Linked DNA regions of Homo sapiens: region 2 is linked to region 1. Evidence: promoter capture Hi-C in 16 types of primary human blood cells and fetal thymus (Javierre and others, 2016). All regions are on one chromosome and are shown on one strand. The core of a region is centred on a gene start or on the middle of the fragment in contact, and the rest is flanking DNA. Distances in the headings are between cores, read along the strand shown.

The links. The method cuts DNA at HindIII sites, captures the fragments that hold promoters and counts their contacts. A CHiCAGO score of 5 or more calls a contact.
Region 2: a contact is called between a fragment that was not itself captured here and the fragment with the promoter of C1orf174 in region 1, in 1 of 17 cell types (erythroblasts). The highest score is 6.3, in erythroblasts.

What each region holds. Positions count from the first base shown.
Region 1 is chr1:3,897,660-3,902,357 of GRCh38, reverse strand. C1orf174 (chromosome 1 open reading frame 174) reads left to right here and starts at 2,086. Exons shown (of 4, transcript NM_207356.3): 1 at 2,086-2,186. The coding sequence starts at 2,172. It overlaps LINC01134 (long intergenic non-protein coding RNA 1134), which reads right to left and starts at 1,954. Exons shown (of 4, transcript NR_024455.1): 1 at 1,727-1,954. RefSeq lists silencers at 1,006-1,185, 2,266-2,335 and enhancers at 1,386-1,645, 1,285-1,854, 1,855-2,423, 2,424-2,994. The HindIII fragment of the contact is 4,148 bases long and covers 1-3,386 here.
Region 2 is chr1:4,608,805-4,613,502 of GRCh38, reverse strand. No RefSeq gene overlaps it. Among named protein-coding and RNA genes, the nearest start is that of LINC01646, 40 kb to the right of the region's middle. The HindIII fragment of the contact is 3,261 bases long and covers 941-4,201 here.

The DNA.
Region 1 (4,698 bases), core at 837-3,336:
ACCTGCGGGCGGAGAGGGGAGGGGCCAGGTGTCCTCGGCCTCTGATGTGGCTTCCACCCTGCGCCCTTTTCTGAAGACACACATCCTAGAGCCCAGAGAACTTGAGGGCTGGAGGGTTTAAGGCAAGGCTGGATTTCATTTCTATGTTGAAATTCTTAAGAACAGAACAGTGTGCCGAGCGCGGTGGCTCACGCCTGTAATCCCAGCATTTTGGGAGGCCGCAGCAGGCGGACCACGAGGTCAGGAGATCGAGATCATCCTAGCTAACACGGTGAAACCCCGTCTCTACTAAAAATACAAAAAAATTAGCCGGGTGTGGTGGCGGGAGCCTGTAGTCCCAGCTACTCGGGAGGCTGAGGCAGGAGAATGGCGTGAACCCGGGAGGCAGAGCTTGCAGTGAGCCGAGATTGCGTCACTCCACTCCAGCCTGGGCGACATAGCGAGACTCCCGTCAAAAAAAAAAAAGAAAAGAAAAGAACAGTGGGCCTGGCACGGTGGCTCACGCCTGTAATCCCAGCACTTTGGGAGGCCAAGGTGGGCGGATTATTTGAGGTCAGGAGTTCGAGACCAGCCTGACCAACATGATGAAACCCCATCTCTACTAAAAATACAAAAATTAGCCAGGTGTGGTGGCGCCTGCCTGTAATCCCAGCTACTCAGGAGGCTGAGGCAGGAGAATGGCTTGAGCCCATGAGGCGGAGGTTGCAGTGAGCTGAGATCGCGCCACTGCACTCCAGCCTGGGTGACAGAGCGAGACTCCGTCTCAAAAAACAAACAAACAAACAAAAAAACCCACAACAGAACAGTGGTCCTCAGCTTTACAAACACCTCCCTCAGCGGCGGCCAAAGAGGACGCATCACAGCAGCCCAGGCCTGCTAGGGGCGTGTTTGCTGGAGGAGGCGTGGCCGCCGTGTGTCCATCCAGACCTGATAGGGCGCGGCCATTGGAGGAGGCGTGGCCGCTGCGGGTCCACCCAGGCCTGCTAGGGGCGTGGCCATTGGAAAAGGCGTGGCCCCTGCGAGTCCACGTTGGCCCCGGAGAGTAACGGGACGGCGGAGGGGTCATTTCCCGCCTTGCACGTAACGGGGGACGAAAACCGGCCCCCAGCCCGACGCCGGACCCTGGCCTCCTGGGCCCACCGACGGCCTCCACTAAGGCCCCCTCCCGCCCGCAACGTGGGGGACAGCTGAGGCCACTTCCCGGGCGGGCCACCCCAACCCAAAGCGGCATGTCGCGGGGCAGCACAGCCTGCGACAAGCGCGCAAAGCTCCCCAGCGGGACCGCAGCACGGGCAGGCCTGGGAGTCCCTCGCGCTGCTCAAGGCCGCTAACCGGCACTCAGAAACCAGCGCTCTGCGGCACTGGAGAAAGCACTTCCCGCCCTCCTGCAGGCTGTTAGCCAGGGGATGCAAGGGGAGGGGCCCCTCACGGACGTCCCGCCCGCCCCTCTCAAACATGGCGGCCACAGGCGCACCAAAGGAAGAGCCCCTCACAAACATGGCCGTCCGCCCCTCTCATACATGGCGCCAAAGAGGCTTCAAGGGAAGCGCCCCTCACGAACATGGTTGCCTGCCCCTCTCAAACATAGCGGCCACAGGCGCACCAAGAGAAGCGCCCCTTACAAACATGGCCGTCTGCCCCTCTCAAACATGGTGGCCAAAGAGGCTTCAAGGGAAGAGCCCCTCAAGAACATGGTTGCTCCCCCCTCAAGAACATAGTTGCCCACCTCGCTCAAACATGGCGGCCACAGGTGCACCAAGGGAAGCGCCGTTCACGAACATGGCCGTCTGCCCCTTTCAAATATGGCGAACACAGAAGCTACAAAAAAAGCACCCCCCGCAAACATAATCTCTCAGGCCTGCCACGGGCGTGGGAAACATAGCGGCTACAGGGGTGCCAAGGGACGCGCCCTCATGAACATGGCCGGCCACAGGCCGACTTCCTGCTCCAGTGTCCCACCACTGGCCCAAGGCCTGTGACCTTCGCCCGCCGCTTACGAAAGAGCCAACACGGGGGGGGGGGGGGGGGGAATCACATGACGAGGGTGCTGCACTGTGATTGGCTGTGCTGACGTCGGACGCCGCCGCGGCGCGCTCTGCAGACTCCGGGTCGCCGCTCCGCCGGGACGCGTTGGCCGGGGCGCGCGGTGCTTGGCTGCGGTGCTCACACTCATGAGGAGCCGGAAGGTGAGGGCTGGGTCCCGGCAGCAGCTGCGCCGGGCAGGGCGGGGACTCTGGGTCACCTGCTGTCTGGAGAACCGGGGCGGGGTCACGGGGTGCCTGTGGCCTAGGAGCGGCCTCCGCTTGGGCCTCGCCCCCGGCAGTAGTTGGGGGGCTCCAGGCCACGCTCCCGGGAGAAGGAGGGCTGCCAGGTCACGCCCCTGTGAAAAGGGGGCTCCGGGCCACGCCCTCGGAAGAAGTGGAGCTCACAGGTCACGTCCCCGGGAGAAGGGGGCTCCCAGGTTACCCACCCCCGCAGAATGGGGCCTCTGGGCCACACCCCCGAGAGAAGGGGAGCTCCCAGGCCATGCCCGCGGGAGAAGGGGGGCTCCGGTCCACGCCCTCGGGAGAAGTGGAGCTCACAGTTCACGTCCTGGGCAACAGGGGGCTCCCAGGTCACGCCCCCTTGAAGGGAGGTTTCGGGCCACTTTCCTAGGAAGGTGGGGCACCCTCTCCAGAACTGGTTTCAACTCCTGGTAGTGCTAGATGCTGCAGAGCTGAGTTTGTGCCCCTCAACTGCTGCCACTCCAATGGACGTCACACAGCAAGTGACCTCAGCTTGGCCCCATCTACTGAATGTGCTAAAAGTGGGGTGATGAGGGATCCACCAAGAGGGTGGTGAGGATTGAAGGGGGGTGCCAGTGTCTGGCAAGGGGCAAGTGCTCATTGCGTGGGTGTAACAGTTAAGGCGAAGGACCCTTTTCACAGTGGACCCGGCGCGGGTCCCGGTCCACTTGGGAGGCTCTGAGCTGCATGGAGGCTCTCCTGGTTTGTTCAAATGGAGTGGCCACTTGTGAATTCCAACTCCTTTTACTATTTTTATCTTTGAACCAAAACTTGTCTCCTGTAGGCACATATACTTGGATCTTTTTTAAAATGCAGTCTGGTAGTTTCTGCCTTTTGATTGAATTGTTTAGCCCATGCACATTTAATATTATTGATACACTGTAGTTAGGTTTACATTTGCCATTTTACTTTTTCTTTTCTTTATACAAGTCTGTCTTTTTCTTCCCCTGTTCCTTCTTTAAGTGGATTAAAGTGAATATTTCCTAATGTAGCATTTTAATTTAATGATTTTTTTTCCACAACTTTTTTGGGTTTTTTCCAGTGCTTTATGTTTTACCGTATACAGCTTAATCTTCATATTCTCCATATACATCTTAAGCTTCAGATTTGTACTAGGTTAATTCCAAGTGATACAGAAATGTTACTCTTATATGGTTATTTTTGTGGTATTTTGTTATATGTATTACATCTGATAATGTTACAAACTCAACAGTACTGTGTTATCATTATTACTTTCTGTCTGTGGTCATTTCCTTAGCCAGCAGGGGTTTGCTTTCACCCACTTTGTTTTGTTATTGGCAAATATAGTACATGTCTGTATATATTATACACATATTACTGTATACAATTGCTTTTTAAATTAAGAGAAGGAGGTAGAGGAATAGGCATTTAAACTATATAAGAACATAATTACCTTTACTGGTGCTGTTTTTGTGTGTGTGTGGTTTTGAATTACTGTCTGGGGTCACTTGCTTTCAGCCTGATGAACTTCTTTTAGTGTTTCTTGTAAAGTGAGTTTTGTTGTTGTTGTTGTTGTTGTTGTTGTTGTTGTTGTTTTTGCTTTGAGACCAGAGTCTCACTCTGTTGCCCAGGCTGGAGTGCAGAGGTGTGATCTCGGCCCACTGCAACCTCTGCCTCCCGGGTTCAAGTGATTCTCACCTCAGCCTCTGGAATGGCTGGGATTACAGGAGGCTGCCACTACGCCCGGCTAATTTTTGTGTTTTTACTGGAGACAGGTTTTCACCATGTTGGCGAGGCTGGTCTAAAACTCCTGACCTCAGGTGATCACTGCCTCAGCCTCCCAAAGTGGTGGGATTACAGGCATGAGCCACCATGCCCAGCCCATTTTTGAAGTATAGCTTTGCTGGATATAGGATTCTTGGTTGACAAGTTTATTTGAGCATGTTGAATATGTTTGAATATTCTCCATTGTTTCAGTCAGTTCATTTATTGAGGTTCCCTTCTAAGTGGCTTTCTTCTTGGGGCTTTCAAGGTTTTGTTCTCTTTCAAGATTTTGCCTTTGATCTTTGTATTTTTACAGTGATGTGTCTGTGGATCTCTTTGCATGTATCCTATTTGGAGTTCTGTTCATTAAGATTCCTGGATATGGGGCCAGGCACGGTGGCTCACGCCTGTAATCCCAGCACTTTGGGAGGCTGAGGCAGGCGGATCACAAGGTCAGGAGATTGATACCATCCTGGCTAACACAGTGAAACCCTATCTCTACTAAAAATACAAAAAATTAGCGGGGCGTGGTGGCGGGCGCCTGTAGTTCCAGCTACTTGGGAGGCTGAGGCGGGAGAATGGCATGAACCTGGGGGGCGGAGCTTGCAGTGAGCCAAGATTATGCCACTGTACTCCAGCCTGGGCGATAGAGTGAGACTCCGTCTCAAAAAAAAAAGATTCCTGGATA
Region 2 (4,698 bases), core at 1,322-3,821, 710 kb before region 1:
AAAAGTCCCAGGGTGGAACTGTGGCAGAAGGGGACTGAGGCAGATGGTCTAGAAACCGAGCCCCTATTGAAAGCTGGAAGGATGTGATGTTGCAAAGCCTGCCAATAAAAAGTTTGTCTGGGGGTTTTTCTCCTGCGTCCAGATAATTTGGTGTTTCTGTCAGGGCCCAATCAGTGTAAAGGAAACACATGGTATATGAACAAGGAAAGACTAATTCAAAGCAAGGCTCATGGTAACAAGGGACGGGACCAAGCAGGGCTTAGCCTGAGGACAGAGCCCCTGAGCAGGGAGGTCTTCTGAGGCTGCAGGCTCTGCCCAGAAGATCTGATGGGCCCAGTGCCAAGGGCTGGATGTGAATTCTGAGAGTCTCAGGCTGACTTCAGAATCTAACTACTCTACTGTTTAAGTGGATCGCAAACTTAGTGGAATAAAAGCCTTTTCTCTGCTGCTGCCAAATGGTGAGTGTAAAAGCGATGGTGTCTGTGTCAGCACTCGGTTCAAACCGAGTCGTGGATGAGGCAAATTGGATCATTATTCATTTTATCGGTTACTTATTTTTAGAGCAATTTAACAATTACATGTAAAGTGCAAAGCACAGACCCGATTTACAGCGAAACTGTGAATTTACTGCCTCCACTTGGGCACCTGACAATTTGTGTGTTTCCGTTTAGCATATTTTCCCCTTCCCTCAGGTGCCTGGGTTTAACATTATCTTTCTATCAATTTATAGGAGAATCCTTCGGGAGGATGAAGGTGTAAAGAAGTCGGAATGAAAGCCACTAGCACGTGGACTAGTCCATGTTCTAGAGTCCTGCGGATAACCAGGGCCTGTGTAGATGCCATGGAGCCCCACAATCCTTTGTGGGGCTGGTGGGGCAGGAGGCACAGGGAAAGACCCTCCCAGGAGAGACCCCAACCCCATCCCTGGACTCTGCAAGCTTCTCTGATGGTGATGGTGTGTCTAGGGGATGGGATCATCGTACTGAACCCTCAGAAAAGAAAGAGACATCAGCCCAGGAGCCCTTTGCATCCTCAGGGGAAGCCTTCCTGATATGGGCTTCTGGACGGAGGTGTGCTCCTGACTGTTTCTGAAAAGCATACACACCCTGGCAGCCCAGGAATGCCCAGGAGCACCAGGCTCTGCTGAGAAGATTCTGACCTTGGTAGTCAAGGCGGCTGTCATGGTGTACCGATCCTACAGAGAGATTAACAGAAAAGGGGAGAGGAGGCGGGGTGGCGAGGAGGGGAGGGAGAGGAAGCAGGAGAGGCACGGGGAGGGGCAGCCTCCTACCTGAACCCAGGCCGCAGGCCGCCTGGACTCCATGTCTGTCTTATCATGGACCCCATCAGGCCTGTGCCCGGGTGACCCTGGGAACCGTCTCTGGTTTCTCACTCACTGTGTCCTTGCAGGAGAGCCACTGTGGCTGGCTGAAGGGATCCAGGGCACATTTGTGTGGAGGAGCGGGAGGAGATTGCCCACCTCCCACCACTGCTTTCCCTTCTAATTGAATGCTGGGGAAATGACAGGTCATTGCCTCCAGTTTTATTTGTTGGGAAAATGGAGGAAAGTGCTACAGATTGTGATCGGGAACAAAGCTGAGCAGATAACAGGAGACCCGCCTTGGGCCTGCAGAAAGACAAAACCCGGTCCCTGATTAGACGCTGAGGGCAAGGCCGGGAGGGGGCAGTGGGCGGGACATGGAGTGTCATTTGATTGTCTCTGCTGGCAGCGCTCCCCGGAATTGCCATTTAAATTATTCAGCGTTTTTAAGCACCGTTGGACTTGGGGTATTGTCAGCTGCACAGGGAGGCCGAGTGTGGGGCTGCCTCAGCCCCGGCAGCTGGATGACGCGTATTCTCCTGTCATGGTATTTCTAACAGTGACTCTCTCCCTCTCTGTAGCAGGCACCATCTTCCCTCCTCCTTTAGGGAAAGGGCACCCACATCTCCTTTGGGGACCCCCACTTCATTCTCTCTCGAGGAGCCTGGGGGCCTTCCTGGTTTCAGCTGATCAGCATTTCCCATGGCTGTGGCCCTGGCCCCAGGGATCCATGCACAGGAGGGCACATGGCCTATGTTGGCTCCACTCGAGGGACCTCTCACCACCTTCTGGGAGGGGTGAGACAGACCAGAGCTCAGTCTCTCCCACAGGATGGGCAGGGGAAGAGAAGAGCACTGGCCCAGGGGGTCGATAGTCATTAGCACTGGTGAAAGGAGAGTCAGCCTCAGAATGAGACCTGAAAGCAGGAAGAAGCGGTCAAGCGCAATCAGGTGGAGTGGGGCATGAGTCAAATTGTGGGGCCTGAAATCCATGCCTACCTGGAACCTAGAATGTGAGGTCTTTGCAGAGGTCATTAGTTAAGACAAGGTCAGCCGGGGCAGTGGCTCACACCTGTAATCCCAGCACTTTGGGAGGCCAAGACAAAAGAATTGCTTGAGCTCAGGAGATTGGGACCAGCTTGGGCAACATAGTGAGACATCATCTCTACAAACAATAATAATTTAAAAAAAAGCTATGGTGGCACACACCTGTGGTCCTAGCTACACGGGAGGCCGAGGTGGGAGGATTGCTTGAGCCTAGGGTGTCGAAGCTGCAGTGAGCCAAGACCTTGCCACTGCACAACAGCCTGGGTAACACAGAAAGACCCTGTCTCCAAAAAAATGAGGTCATACTAGAATAGGGTGAGCTATATGTGCAATATGACTGGAGTCCTTATGAGAATAAAAAGAACCTCAAAGAGGCTCACTGTAAAGACGGCCATGTGAAGAATGAGGCAGAGATGGGAGCAATACAGCCACAAGCCAAGGAACAAGAAAGATTGCCAGGAGCCATGAGAAGCTATGAGAGAGACTCAGAGGGAGCCATCCCCAGGGCCTTTGGAGGAGGGATGGGCCTGCCCACAATTTGACTTCAGATCTCAGGCTTCCAGAACTGTGAGACAACACCTGTTGTTTCAAGCCAAACAATTGAGTTATGTTGTTACTGCATTTAGGGAACTCATCAAGAAGTATAACTGGGCTGTGGGTGTTGAGGCTTTCCCACCCCTGGACCAGACAGTGGAGTTAACTGGGCTTCCAAATGCCCTGCCTTGCTTCAGCCAGTTTAAAGTGGGTCATGGTGAATTGTGACCAGTGGATTCCTAATGGACACAGCCTCCACAACAAGCAAGGGAACACATCTGGCTGGGCAGGAGTACGAAATGTGCATGTCAGTGCAGAAAAATCTGTACCTCAACCACTCAGTGAACACATCCCAGACCCCTCCCCAGGCTCCCTCACAGCTCAAATAGCCAAATATTTAGCCCCCTTTTGAAGTGCTCAAGTACTGCTGGAAAAAGAGAGATGCAAGCTACATAACTACAATTCAGCTTACTACAGAAAAGCCACTGCAGGAATTCACAGATGGCTTGATCCTGCCTGGCCAGTTTGATCATCAAAGGCTGCATTTAGAGGGCAGCATTTAAAATTAGACATTTCAATGCCTCATATTAATGGATTGGGGAATATAAATTATTTCTGAGTGACATTTTAATGTACTACATATCCCTTCAATCTAAATTACCAAAGTTTATAAACATTGAATTCCTATTGATGAAGAAGCAAATATTTAGCTCCTTACTGCTAAGACCATGAAATCACTTTTCAAAGGGTGGAGCTGAACTTGACCTACTCACTTCTGTTGTTTAGTTCTTGGTCCCAGTCAGGAAAGGAGGAGAGAGCACTGTTTTTGAGTGCTTATGTGCCAGGGTTTAGACTATACATTTTCAGGTGTCTTTTCCCAATTTTCATAACAACCCAATGAGGAACATAGTATCTGTCTATTTCAGCTCAGGAACTAGGTTTAGAGTAGTTAAAAAAAACTTTCCCAAGATCACACGACTGGGTAGTGTTTCAATGTGATTCTGTTTGGTTCTAAAACTCATGCTTTTTCATTTCTACCAAACCATGCTTCATCGCTACAGGTTTAAAAGGACAAAAGGCCCAAAGTGGTTACAGCCTGGCCTAAGGTCACAAGGAGGGTCGGGGTAGAACTGAAGATGGAGTTGAAGACTTGCCTGGTTGGTTCTCAGCTCACCCTCTATGCATCCCTTACTCTTCCCTGTGTGTGCTAAAATGTTAGGTAAGACTCTTAATACTCAGAAGTAATCCTCAGAAAACTCATTTGCATTTTGTTTTCCTAACAAGGAAAATGGGGCAAGCTTCACCTTGTCAGTCCTTCAGGGGAGCAAACATTCCAGAAGGAAGTAGGTTTGGATTGTTGAGGTCTGGTCCTCCTTACCCCTGGGTGGGGTAAACTGACTCATTTTAAAATATCTCTAATCTGGGCTTTTTTTTCCCTATGGACAGCCCATGCACATGCTAGCTGGACCAGGAGGGAGGATGGGAGGAGGGAAAGTGGTACTCCGGGCCCTGAGATGTGGCTACCTGAGCCTCATGCTGACAACATGTGCCCAGGGACAGCAGAGGGAGCAGCAAGGGGGCTGGCCCTGGGAGGCCCGAGGCAGGGGCAGCTGTCACCTGTGTCTTCTCCCAGGCACCCACAGGTTAACTGTGAGCTCACTGAAGAACTGCAGAGCATGTGTGCTGGTGGGGTGTGACAGGCAGGTTGGTTCACCCCACTGTGGAGATAGGGAGAAGAGGACCCTGTTTGGTTTCTCTCTGGGGCTTCATGCCTCCTGGTTTCTATCCAACTGCTGG